Linked DNA regions of Homo sapiens: region 1 is linked to region 2. Evidence: promoter capture Hi-C in 16 types of primary human blood cells and fetal thymus (Javierre and others, 2016). All regions are on one chromosome and are shown on one strand. The core of a region is centred on a gene start or on the middle of the fragment in contact, and the rest is flanking DNA. Distances in the headings are between cores, read along the strand shown.

Region 1 (6,914 bases), core at 3,695-6,194, 560 kb after region 2:
TAATTAGACTTTTTTCCCCACTCCAGTGCACCTCTTCCAGTCTATCTAGTCATTCTTCTGTGTTGGTGAAACCTTTCTGGGTTTGGAGAAGTGTTTCCTCTTAGTATTATGTGGGTTGAAGAATAAGTCTTTGTAAGACTCTTAAATGGGGACTGGGCACAGTGGCCCACACCTGTAATTCCAGCAGTTTGGGAGGCTGCGGCGGGAGGATCACTCGAGGCCAGGAGTTCAAGACCAGCCTGGGCAACATGGCAAAACCCAGTCTCTACTAAAAACACAAAAATTAGTGGGGCAGCACACTCCGGCCTGGGGGATAGAGCAAGACTCTGTCTCAGAAAAAAAAAAAAAAAAAAAAAAAAAAGACTCAAGTGGGGTTTGGAGAGAATTGTGATATGGGAATCTGGACTTGGTGGTTTTCTTGGAGAAAATCATGTAATTTAGAGTCTACAAAATGGGATTCAGTTTCATGAAAATTGGACCCTGGAAAAGGCAAAAGTCTCATACCACTTTTTCCGAATATGCTAGAATATTGCACTACTATTTCATTTTCTTTAAAGCCGTTGTCATTTCAGTGGGCATGTGCTTCTTTCACTTTTATTGCTTGTGGTTTCCAGAGTGCTCATTTGTTCCTGAATTTAGAGCTATTTCAATTTTACTCTTATCTCTGCATAACTGCTGACTTTCCCCTCTTATTTCCAAGGTAAATCGGTTAGGTTTAGTTTGCCTTTTTCAGTAAATCTTTTAAGGAATGTATGTGAGTTAGATATTTCATGTGTATTTTGATTACATTTTATTGATTTAAATTTTTTTATCAGAGAGTGTCTAACGTTATGCATAACGTTTAAAAATTCTATTACATTTAGACCACTTATATTCTAGCTTTCCTAATGGATTGATTTCATTATAGATTTTGGAAAAAATGAGTCCAGTACACTCTGTAAGAATAGTGAGGTGGCTGAGGGAAGGCTCTGGAGTTAGACTTACTGGGTATGAATCTAAGCTTTGCTGCTTACCAGCTGTGTGATTTGGGGCGGGTTTACTTATCCTTTCTGGGCCTTGGTTTCCTCTTGTGTTAAGTGAGGTTATCAGAAGCACCAACCTCAAAGGTTTGTTATGAAGATTAAGTGAGATAATACTTGTAAAGTGCCTTTTCAGCATAGGAAATCTGTAAATAGTACTTGTTATAGTACAGCTATTACTAAAGCATAAGAAAACTCAGTAGAGGGAAATCTTCATTTAGGACATTAAGCAGTGAGTCAGTAGAAGTGACGATGGTGATGCTGGTATGGAGGGATTGTTAGCTTAATGATGAGAGCTGTCTTGTTAAAGTTCTCTGGTGCATGTGAGTATTGGGTTATAGCCCATTTAGTGCTTGATATCAAGATTTAAAAGCAGAAAAAATTTAAAATGGAAGTGTTGGAATCCATTAGTTGCCTGCATCAGAAGTAAAGCTAAAGTATTTTTGAAATGATATTGGAAGTTGCTGGGGGAAAAGCATCTTGCAGCCGTTATGTTTATGTATGTTTCAGGCTTTGGCAAGGTGTGCTGTACTTTTCTTCCAAGATCAAGGAACAGGATTTCTGCCTGTATGACAGTGGGGGTTGGGAATTTTGGTTCTAATTTTTGCTCCATTGCTGGCTTCTCTGTCCGTGGGTAGATCGCTGCTTCTTCCTGAGCAGGATTCTGATTCCTGAAAGGGACCTAAAAACTTAGCCCTCCTGAGAGGATCCGAGTAGATGGCATCTTTGAAAGCAGGTGGAGTGTTAAATTCCAAAGTAAATGCAAATGCAAGTGGCTCCAGTATAGAAAAAGTTCTGTGAGCTGAGAGATTCTTGCCATTTTACAGCTAAGATTTTATTCTGTGGCCCTCTTGAGTTCTATAATTCCCAGATAAATATATTTTTTGAAATATTCAACCTTGGGGTGTTTGTACCCAATTTGGAGGTGGAGAAAGCTCCCTATTCCTCCAGTCTGAATTCCTTCCCTCTGATTCCAGGGAAAACTTTGCTATGATTTCCTTTAACATCTAGTATTAAATGCACGTTCTACCGCTTTGTCCTCACTTGCCTCAAAATTCTCACTCTTTTCAACAACATTTAGCTTCAAGATCCTGTTGTCTTACAGCTTTGGAGTTGCTGTTTTATCTTCTTCATCTTCCTCTTTTTTCCCCCTACCAGCTTCTGGACTATTTTGATGCCAAGGACAACTCAATTTTTCCCCATCTGTGTGGCTTGGTTCCAGCACTCTCTCCACTTTCACTAAGGGCCTAAATCATCAACCTCCCTGCCTCTTGGGTCTACCACAGCATCAAGGGGCTGCTTTGTAGAGCTTCATTCAAATAATTTTATGTACTGGCTTGCAAGCCTGAGGTTTCTGCAGGAAATAAAATTTAAACATGAAATCGTATGTTTTAAGACTCCTTACCACTTGGCTCCTGTTCTCCCTTCCCTGAACCATCCACACTTTATCTTCTTTACAGTTCCGACCAGTATTCCCACACTGGGGAAGTGTTCTTAGACACATCTCACCATCACACATCCCTACAACCCTCCTTCACTATTACATATCAATAGTGCAATCTCATTTGTGTAGATTAATCAGGTAGACTGCTACTTAAACACAGGCTGTGTCCCTATAGATTGGCCGTTTTCTATAGAAATGATGCTGTAAGTGGTGATGACTTTTCTAGGCTATCTCACAGCTACCCACTTAGCTGATAATGTTGGTGCAGGACTGACTGCATGAAAACAGAAAAGAAACATCACTTACACATTTGAGTAAGAACCTCCTTGATTTCAGCCTGATTGCTCTGCCTAAAGAGGGACATGCTTGTTTAGAGTATGAGAAATGGAAACTTGGTAATTTTGTGAGAGAGTTTTTGGGAACCTCTAAGGGCCTGGACATTTTAAAAAGGTTCCAGTTATATTCCCAAATATATAGTTTTCCTTTTCTTTTACATTGTGTCATAAATCCCTTAAGACATATCTACTCTGATTTACTTTCTGGCTGCACAGCTGAAATAAACAGGGAAAACAAAGTAGGGAAATAATTTTCCTAAGATAAGTGGGCGAGTGTTGAAGGCCGAAAGAATGAGGGTCGTGATCAACTCAGTATACCACTGGAGACTATATGAGTAAACAGCAAACTGTTTCTCATGAAAGCAGGTTGTTGGCAAACTGACAAACTGTGTCTGCCTCCCAGAAAGAATGCTGGGGGGCAGTCACCACCCAGGCACAGTGTTTCTTGTGATTAGGCAAATCTGAAGCCTGTTAGCAATAACGTGAACCTGTGATCAATCAAGCAGCTGACCAGTCATTACCTCCTCCTCCCTGCTCTTTCTGCCCAATAAAAACAAAGGGCTGTAGAAGCTCGAGGTTGCTGCCTTTGCTCCCTAGAAGCAGGGAGCTCTCTTCTTCCCCTGGCCCCTTCCTTTAAAATAGTTACTTTTAAGTTTTCATTTCTGCCTTCGTCCTCCTTCCTTCAGTCTCCTAATGACTGTCTCAAGTAGTAACAGTAGTGACTGTCGTAGTGACAGTCTCAAATAGTAACCATTGCAGTCAGCTACAGGCAAGAGTTGAAAAGAGAGTGTGTGAGGAAGAAAGCTCTGTTAAGGAGGATGGGTGAGTGTCTGTGTGGTGGTGGTGTTTCGAGGTGGCATTCGTGTAATGGAGAGGTGAAAATGAAAGTGGAAAGTACTGCCTGTCATTCCCTTGGGAGTAGCAGAGACGTAGGTGGTGAGGAAGAGGCACCGGGCTGAAAGCCTGCGGGTGGTCCCCGGGGATAGTTTGCTTGCTGTCCAGGGTGGCTTTGGATTGGGCGTCAGAAGAGGAATGAGACATTAACGAAATCCCTGGGGATGCCAACTTCCTGAAAGAGGTCCAGATGCACGTAGGATGGGCATACCCCAGGAAGTTCAGCCAGATTTCTTTGATTCAGGGAGAAAATCAGGGTCAGGGCTTAGGTAGGCTCCTGATGAGTGAAATTCACTAACTAGTAACTACTAATGTTTGTTGAGTGCTTATTCACTGCCAGGCCCTGGGCTAAGCATTTTACATTTAACCCCTTCAACAACCCTATAAGAAAACATCTGGGAGGCCGTTATCTACCCGTTTCCTTAACCAATAAATGACACAGCCTGGGACTCTCCCTGCACCAGCCCACCCCTCCTCCCTGAACCCCACAGGTGGGTTTGGTGCCAGAATGTATCACTGTGCTGTCAAGTGGAGACTATTTGGTTCAATTCCTAAATTTTGGGGGTGAGGGGACAGCTAGTTTCCCTGCTTAGTTACCTGGTGTTTTGCCGCTAGTTACTATGTATCTCTGTGTATTTGTCTACAAAACATAGAGCATTGTTGAAACTATGTTATTGTTTCATTGAAACAATGTTATTGTTTCCTTATACCACTGAGTAGAAGAAAATGGAGTTTCTGCTGGGGCCACTGTCTGTGGAGTTTGCACATTCTCGCTATGTCTGCAGGGGTTTTCTCTGGGTACTTGGTTTCCTCCCACATCCCACAGCTGTGCCCATTAGGTGAATTGGTGTGTCTAAATGGTCCCAGTGTGTGAATGTAACTGAGTGTCCTATTAAGTTTTTCTGTGATGGCATCAAATGCCTGTTGATGCTCATCTGTCCAAGGCAGGGGGCTCTGAATCTAGTCCCTTTTAAAGGCCTCATAAAGTGGCTTAGCCATCAACCCCAAATTTGGAATTCAAATTCAACAAAAGCCAGACATTCCTAGAAATCCCTGCAATTGCCTCCCGTTTTGGGGAGCCTTTGGGGCCACTGTTATCTGCTTTCAGTAGGGTCTTTAGGCTCCTTCAGCCTGAAGTCGAGGTTCCAGAGACTAGACCTTGAAATAGTACAGGCACCTGTGAAAATCTCCCCTACCAGGAGATGGCTTTGAGGGTACAGTTAATTTACAACCCAGCTGAGCCCCAGATGTTGCCAGCCCGTTCACAAGATGGAGCAACAATTCAAGACGAGTCATCGGAACAAGTCATGCCGGCATCGGAACAAGTCATGCCGGCCTGCACTGCCTCACCCCATGCCGCAACTTGCTTCCCCTTCTTAAACCTTTGCACTTTGCTTGGAAATTTGAAGTGGTTCCATTAAGGCAAGAGTCTAGACCGTCTTCCCCATGGCTAGCTTTGGTCTGTAATAAAGTCACTTTCTTTCTGCCATACCTCTATCTTGCTAATTTGTTTTGCAAGTGGTGAGCAGCTGAACCTGTGTTTGGTAACGAGTGTGGGGGAGTGAGTATGAGTGGGTTCTGCGCTGGGATGGCATCCTGTCCAGGGCTGGTTCCTGCTTTGCATCCTGAGCTGCTGGAATGGGCTCAGCTACCAGAGACCCTAAATTGGAACAAGTGGGGTGGAAAATGAATGAATGAATACAAATTAATAAAAATTTGTAAAGTCTATGATAATCATACAAATGCATGACAAAAAAAATGTAGTATGAAAGCGCTCAGTGAGCCCACCCTAATTGTAAATGTTTTGAACTGCATGGTGGCAGGAGGTGCTCCTTATAATTTTTGCTTTGCAAACATTTTATTCCTTGGTTTAACCGACCACCATCACAACTGCCATCACTTGCTGATTCACCAAACTTGGGTAAATAATGATCTTACCTGTGCTTATTAATCTTTAAGTGTATGTGTATAGCTCTTGTTTATTTCAGTGTTTACTATTAGAAGTGTTTTGGTCTTTATTTAGATGTATGATGTTTTTGTGACCAGAAATATGCAGTAGGAACTTACTTTTTGCTTATATCAATTAGCCTATTGTAAAATTAGTAGCATTATACATTGTTTTGTTTAAAGTTACAATTTCCAAGACCCTACTGGTGATGTTCAGTAAGGACTCACTGTACAATCCAGCTAAGAGCAGCACTAAGCTGGGTGCAGTGGCTCACGCCTGTAATCCTAGCACTTTGGGAGGCCACGGTGGGCGGATCTCCTGAGCTTAGGAGTTTGAGACCAACCTGGGCAACAACAACAATAAAAAACTAGCCTGGCATTGTGGTGCATGCCTGTAATCCCAGCTACTCAGGAGGCTGAGGCAGGAGAATTGCTTGAGCCTGGGAAGTTGAGGCTGCAGCGAGCTGAGATCATGCCACTGCACTCCTGCTTGGGCAACAGAGCAAGACCCTGTCTCCAGGAAGAAAAAAAAAAAAAAAGCAGCACCAAAATGAAAAATTATTAAACCGAATTTTCTAGTTCCCTGAGGATTAAATCCTTAATGCAGGAGGATTGTCTCAGATAGAATGTCCCTGAAAAGCATCTAATGGCAGGCCTTCTAAAACTTTCATTCAGTCTACAAGATCATTTGTGTTCAAATTTCAGTCGCCCAATTAGGAGATCAGCTTTTTGCTAATCAGATTCTTCATGAGGCAAAGAGGTCATCCGATGTAATACCAACATCTTTTGACAGGCGAGACATTAAATTATAAGCCAAGAAGTTAAAATTACCTTCCCACTAAAGGGAAGACTACCAAATTCCTGAAAAGTTCCAGAAAGGAGTCTTGTTATTCTAAAGATGAAAGTATTTAAAAATAAATTGTGAATAGAAATGGATAAAGCTAGAAGCAGTTCTGAAAAATAGTAAGGAACTTGAGAAAGTGTTGTTGAAATACTAGGGCTTAGGCTTGTGTTTTAAAGCATGAATGATTGCTTCTGGATCTCTTAGGTTGCAGGAAAAGTCCAGACCAAACTTTCTGGGTGACTTTTAGGTAACGAAATGGGGCACTCTGGGTGCAAGACTGCTTATTTCTGAAATCGTGGTTTATCAAGGCTGAAGTTTATTTCCCTTCCTGCTCTGTCTCCCAGTGGTCTGAAGAAAGGAGTTTGTGTGTGCGGCAGATTCTAAGCCAGGCTCTAAGTCTGAGTAACTGTACACTGGCATTAATGGGATTG
Region 2 (6,870 bases), core at 760-3,259:
TCCTTCCTTCTATCTTTTATCCAGTGAAAATGAAAACATCTCCACTAAGAGGACTTCCTAGTATAGAAATGGCAAGTATGTACTATCTACCAATTTGCTACTAGCACCACCATTACCTATTTACATGCCCTTTGCATTTGTGGCCAACTGATCTACAGCATTGTGCCTTAGTGTATTCAAGACACTTGGAATTGGCAGTTGAGATGATTATTTGCCATCCCCAACCTAGAGATGATCATTTACTGAGTACCTTCTATATGGGAGGAGAGTTAAAGTCAGAGGGCCACAGCCGGCAGTGTGACTATCTCAGAGGAGATGCTGAGATCAGCAAAGTCATTCTGAGTCCTAAATCGGGTTCTGAGGTCCTTCTCCCAGGTGTTTAGAATGTCCCTCAGGCCTGGGAACAAACTCTCTGGGACACTAAAAGAATAGAGCAGGATTGGGGGTTGACCTAGCAACCATGAGATCCGGGCAGTGAATACTCGTAGTGGAGTCAGAGCTAAGCAGTTGTCATCTCCCTGGTTCAGGTGAAAGGTATAGGGAACAGGATAGCCCAGGAGGATCCCAAATACAGTACACAGATTCCAGTCTGAGGAATGGAGCCTGCTGTAGGAGACTGCTAGAGATAAGTCCCTCTGCAGCCCCTGCAAATGTGTGATGATCTCAGCCACGAGGGCCTTCAAGTCCTGAAGCTGGTCCAGGGAGCAGACAGAAGGGTGACGCTGGCAGCTGGAAACATCCACAAAGGCTATGGTACCAAGCAGCACCTGCTCCAAGTGCTGACATACATGCTCAGGACTGACAATCAGGCTGTTTTCTCCAATCTCAAGGATGTGAAGTCCAAAAGTCAGGAAGCCAAGCCCCTTCAGCTCCTCCAGATAGCTCTGGAGCTCTGATGCCCCTGCACAGTTGCAATCATAGAGCACAGCTGGCTTCAGTCCCCGGGCCACAGCCAGCACCTCTCCAGCTAAGTGAAGGCAGATGGCTTGGGGTGGACTCCGTCTCTTTCCCATGCCAAGGGTCTGCTGAGCAGCTGCCACCAGCAGCTGAGGGCTCGGTGATGACATGAGATCTAGAAGCAACATCAAGAATGGCCTCCTTAGCTAGCCCGAGTTCCCTTCCCTGGGTGGCATCTTTCAGCCAGACACTTGAGGAGGGGCCTAGAAACAAAGCAGGAGCAGGGAATTATTAACAGCCTTCCTGTTAAATCGCGGTATCTTCCAAAGGTTATTCTGTCCCTCCCTGCTTTGAAATGGCGACCCAGCCCAGACAAGATAGTTTCACCGATGCTGCTTGATTTTTCTGGTTGACTTGGTCTCCCTCAATCATAAATTCGTGTGTTTTTCTAGCCTTATAGCTAGATTTATATTCCCTCTGGCTTTTATTCTAAATTTCACCTGTTGCAAATTACGTTCTCTGGTTCAAACCGTAGGGAATTTGGGGCAGAGGCGGAGGCGGGGCAGTGTTTGGCAAAATTCACAGCATTTCGCCCAAAAGCCCTTCTGGGACAGAGCTCCAAGTTCCAAATGTATCCTTTCCACTGACAACTCCCCTACTCTTCCCGCCAGAGAATAGTTATAAGAATAGTAATTTGATTAATATACACCAGAATGTGGACTAACAACCATCTCACCCTGACACATAAAAATGAATGAATGAAATCCACTAGAACTGCAGAAGGGTAGTATTTTAACTTCTGCTGGCCCCGCCTTCCCTTTCTGTCCGACATCAAGGACCCTCGGAAGATGAGATTTCTCCGATCCACACACCCCACACCAGAGCATGTTATAGTGATTTGCTAAATGAGGCATAAGTCTGTCTCACATACGTTCTTTTTCCACGTCCGCTACAGGTTCGGGGGCTCAGAAACTTTTTGCGGCTTCCTGCCTGCTGCCAGAAAGGCAGCTAGTCCCCCACGCCCAGCCGCAAGTAACACTGGAAAACCCGCCTGCGCTGGGAAGACCCTCGCAGCCCGCTCTGCTCCAGTCCCGCAGGCACCTTCTTGCGCATGCGCACCCACTCGAGTGCCGCCCTCTTTCCCCCCATTCCGTGACGTCATCCAGCCGCTCGCGCGCCTCGCGTTAGAATCACTAGCTAGGCAGCCTTACTGCGCGCCGGAAGTTTGGGCCACCGTGCGGCCCGCCCTTTCCGGCCAGACTGAACGCGGCCCCATCTGTCGGCTTAGGAACTGGGAAGGGCGGAAGTAAACGAGAAAAGGCGGAACCTGGTGAAACTGGTTTCCCGCTGCTGCCCTCATTTTGCTTCGCCGAACGTCCTCCCTGTGTTATGACGTCTGGTGTCCCACTTGACTGGGAATCCAGAAACAGGGCACACAGCAGTTAATAAACACCTTTGATTTGTGTCTGTGGAAATACGTTTTGTCCAGACGAAACATACCTCAAGACAACATATTTTGCAGAATAGCCTCACCTGTGGGTGGTGCTGAAACGTTTTAATTTTTTTTAACTTGACTTCCCTAAATCCTACATTTGAGAGGCCTACAACAGCTCTCTAGGGAGGGTGTGAAGGTGTGAGTATTCACTTTGAACAAATATGTGCCAGTCATGCTGCTAGGCCCTGGAGGTACTGCAGTGAGCAAAACAGACAAAACCCCCACTTTCATGGGGCTTAAGTTCATGTCTACTGAATCCAGTTTGCTGATTTCAAATAAGAAATGAGAAGTGATGACACAGAGGCTTTCCAGTCAGGTCATTACAAAGAAAAAGTGTTATTTCACGTAAGAGTTAACACCTTTTTAACTACCAGCGATTTGACCCATGCCACGAAGGGAAAGGATTTCTTGAGAAAACCCCAATATCTAAGGAAATGGCCCCAATTTATTTATACTTGGAGCAGGACAGAGATTAAGGGAACAGTGGACACCTACACTGGAGTTGTCACTCCTGGATCTATCTTGGTGGTGCCTTCAGTCCATGAAAAGTGAATTGTACAGTAAAGATGGGGTCAGCATGGGAGGAGGACCAGCTTATAGGAGTTACCAGCCTAAGGCTGTCTGGTTCTTAGCTCAGAGGGAATCAGAAGCTGAGAGTAGAAAGTAGTCTTCTAATTTTAGAACGTTTTCCTTCCCCGCATTTATTTAATTTTCCCATGGTGGTTAACAGTAAATCCCTAAAAGACTGATTTAGTTCATTCATTTATTCCAGCAACAAATATTTGAGAACACACTGTGTCCCAGACACTGTTCTAAGGACTGGCAGCGAAGTCCAAGACAAACAGTCCCTACCTTCAGCAAGTTTGCAGTCAAGCAGGATGCGGATGCTGAGCATTACAAGGGAAATGATTATTCTGAGAGAGGAAGTATGGGGTGCTATGGGAACATACAACCAGGGACCTAATTTTATGGGAAAGGGACCAGCCCAGATCCAACACTTGCTCTCCCAGTTTACCTCCAGTAGGTTCTTTTTAACTTGAACTAATCTTGTTTGGTGGGGTACACAGTGAGGAAAAAGAAGAGCTAGTGACAAAATCTAACTCCCTTCTCAGTCTTAAGCAAGGTGAAGGCAAGGGAGTAGAAGATATCAAGGGAGTGAGTGGTGGTAGCCACCAAAGGAGATAGCAGACTGAGGCCCTAAAAAAAGAAAGGAAATCTAAATCTATCCAGCAGGACCAGAGAAAGAGTGCTGAGGGTGATTAGATGGAATCCCTGCATGTACTCTCCCGGCATTCTGAAAAGAAGCCAAAACAAGGAAGAAACCGGGGTATCTAGTTAAGACCTCACAAATCACTCATCCATTCCTCTGACATGTTCATAAACTTTTTATAGTGGTTACGAACCAAAAGCTTGGCATTTCTTGGCACTTTTCCAATACCCTTTACCAGCTCACATTATCTGGGCTCCCACCCAGGCTACAGATAGCCTGGCTGTTAGCACTTCACAGAAGGGATATAGACTGGCCCAGATTCAAGAGCTGCCCTTCTAATTTACCTACAGTGGGTTTTTAACTTTGAGTTCCCACGTAGAGATGGGGCAGCCAAATATCAAGCCCAAATCCCTCACTTCACCTACTCAACAAAATGACCCCCAAAATGTAAAGTTTCTGTGCCTTTAATGCTTCCCGGTCCCTAAAAGCCCAACTTTTCCTCGAAGCTGGGCACCTGACCTTTAGCCAGGTTTCTTAATCTTTTCATGCTTTTCATAATAGCAAATTCCACTAGGTCTCTTAGAAACTCTAAAACCAAGGCTTAAGCACTTTAAATAAATAAGTCCTCATGTCACCACTGATTTTGAACTTTTAGTTTTTAAAATAAGGCTAGCTCAACTTTTGAGTCATTTTGAAAAGTTGGAGATGGCCTGGTTTAAAGGTACCAGACTAGACATGGGCTTCCTTACTATGTCCCGACACAGACAGATAGGCATCACTATTCAAGAGGACTGGGGCTTGCAACCACAGATTAGCATCTTATTTGCCATTTAGGTCCCAGATTGCTTGAGCCCAGGAGTTCAAGACCAGCCTGGGCAACATAGCAAGACCTCATCTCTACAAAAATAAAAAAAAAATTAGCCAAGCATCATAGTGCACGACTGTTGTCCCAACTACTCAGGAGGCTGGGGCAGGACGATTGCTTGAGCCCAGGAGCTTAAAGCTGCAGTAAGTGGTGACTTGCCACTGCACTCCAGCCTGGGCAACAAAGCAAGACTCTGTCTCAAAAAAGAAGAGAAAGCTGAAAGGGTTAGAGACTCAGCAGATGTTTCTAGATAAGACCAGTTTGTGACAGATACAGCTGCATTGTTCTATACCACTCTTTACCTTCACTGTTCACACTCAGATACCTCCACTAGTAAGGGAGACAAGCAGGTTCGTGCTAGGTGAGCCTTTCCAGAAGAGTACTGCCCAGCCCTTCTTCATCCCAGCCTTAACACACTCAACAACCCATTTCTTCCAACTGCAAAAAATCTAAATGATACTGTCCCTTTTGTAGTCAGAGAAGTACATCTTAGATCCCCAGCTCAGTCTAGCTCAGAGAAGAAAACAAGAAAAATAGAGCTCTTTCCTCTTAAAGCTAACACCTGAGTCACATACTGTCACCTACCCCCTCTCCCTGCCGCCCCCCCAACACACACACACTGGTATTTGAGTGGTAATAAGGTAAATGCCTGACAACCTATTCTTCCACAGAATCCCTAGGCTTTCTGTGTCAACAGCTTCCCTTTAGAAGCCAAATTTGTGAGCTTTCACTCCACAGGCTGGGTGACTTTCAGACTTTGGCACCCATTTCTATTTAGATATCAAGCATAGTTTCTAAGCAACCAGCCAGCCAGCTCCTCTCCCTCTCACTTCCCCCATCAGGGAGCCAGCTTACTATACTAGCAGAACAGGTCAAACAGAGCTCGATCCTGGACAAATCAGTGCTTGAGGAAACTTTAACAAAACCAAGGAAAAATGTGGTACAAGAACAATGCAGAAGGATTCTGTTCCAGGCAGTTTAGCCTTGTACAAGTAGAAGAAGGTCATTGAGTCCGTTCTAAAGCTGGATGCAATTTCAGGCACTACTCCAATCTCTTCACTTTATAAGCAATAAATCTGAAGCCCAGAGGTTAAAGGACTTGTTCAAGGTCACATTGGAAGCAAAGCTGCAGCTAGAACTTTGGTGTCCAAACTCCCAGGCCAAATCTCCTTCTACTATGCTATATCATACTACCATTAGGAGATTTGAAAAAGAAAAGCAAAGTCTGAAGGGTGATTTTTCCATAAATTAAATCAGCTTTAAATCTAGGCATATTTGGAGAATCACAAACTTCTAACACTGTTAGAGAAAAGAGAGATTTAAAAGCTGGTTAAATCTAAACAATAAAAAAATCCATATGTACAATATTATAAAAAAGAGAAGGAAGAAGATGGCATTCACAATTACTGGGGAGGCAGGGCAGGGGGCAGTTGCATGCTGGGGGTGGGCTGCATGGGCTGCCAGCTCTCCTGGGTTTGAAGGATGCGGTACAGCTGCTTCAGCTGAGCAACGATGTTATCCTTGATGTCTGGGGTTGAGATCTGCAGGCGGACACTGCCACTATCAAAGGATCGTGTGAAATCACCAGAAAACATCTCGTAGATCATCCGAGCCACTACTGGAATGACCTGTTCAGGACACAGAACACAGGTGTATCCTCTGAGGAAAAGGTATTTTTAAATAGCACAATGGACCCAAGATTGAAGGACAGACCAAAGAGGCCCTGAGGAAGACCCCATTCTGATGTCTAAATATAGGATATGCCTTCATCTCTCTGGACCATCCTTCTGCCAAGGCTCACTGTGGAAGTTGGTTCAAATGAAGGTAAAGAACCTAGATGTAACATTACATCACAGGCCTAAATAAATGACTGCTTACTTTGCAAGACTTTTTACAAAATATCATCTATTGCTTGCCTTGCTACACAACTCCAGGGGCAAAGCCCAAGTGGCCTTGCTGCCACTTCCTAGAATAAATTTATATTCCTAAAAGTAACTCAAAAGGTTTTTCTAAGAAAGGCTGGAAAGGGCCAGGTATCGTGGCTTACACCCATAATCCCAGCATTTTGGGAGGCTGAGACAGGAGGATCACTTAAGCCCACGAGTTCCAGACCAGCATGAGCAACATAGTGAGACCTCATCTCTGCTAAAAATAAAATTAGGCCAGGCATGGTAGCCTGTGCCTGTTGTCACAGCTACTTGGGAGGCTGAGGTGGGAGGATCACTTGAACCTGGGAGGTTGAGGCCACAGTGGGCTGAGATGGTGCCACTGCACTGCAGCCTGGGCGACACAGCAAGACCATGTCTCCAAAAAAAAAAAAAAGTGCAATTTACATTGTGTGTGTGTGTGTGTGTGTGTGTATTTGTGTGTGAAGAAAACCTGGAAAGGGTCATATCCTGTGAG

The links. Contacts are between HindIII fragments. The CHiCAGO score rates a contact against its expected background, and 5 or more counts as called.
Region 1: a contact is called between a fragment that was not itself captured here and the fragment with the promoter of C1orf74 in region 2, in 1 of 17 cell types (activated CD4 T cells). The highest score is 5.7, in activated CD4 T cells.

Annotation. Positions count from the first base shown.
Region 1 is chr1:210,339,908-210,346,821 of GRCh38, forward strand. All of the region lies in intron 1 of HHAT (hedgehog acyltransferase), which reads left to right. Among named protein-coding and RNA genes, the nearest start is that of HHAT, 14 kb to the left of the region's middle. The HindIII fragment of the contact is 7,893 bases long and covers 999-6,914 here.
Region 2 is chr1:209,782,550-209,789,419 of GRCh38, forward strand. It overlaps C1orf74 (chromosome 1 open reading frame 74), which reads right to left and starts at 2,010. Exons shown (of 2, transcript NM_152485.4): 1 at 1,829-2,010; 2 at 1-1,160. The coding sequence starts at 1,085. The coding sequence ends at 276. It overlaps IRF6 (interferon regulatory factor 6), which reads right to left. Exons shown (of 9, transcript NM_006147.4): 9 at 3,068-6,095. The coding sequence ends at 5,871. RefSeq lists enhancers at 1,715-2,332, 1,889-2,148, 2,333-2,948. The HindIII fragment of the contact is 4,418 bases long and covers 1-3,799 here.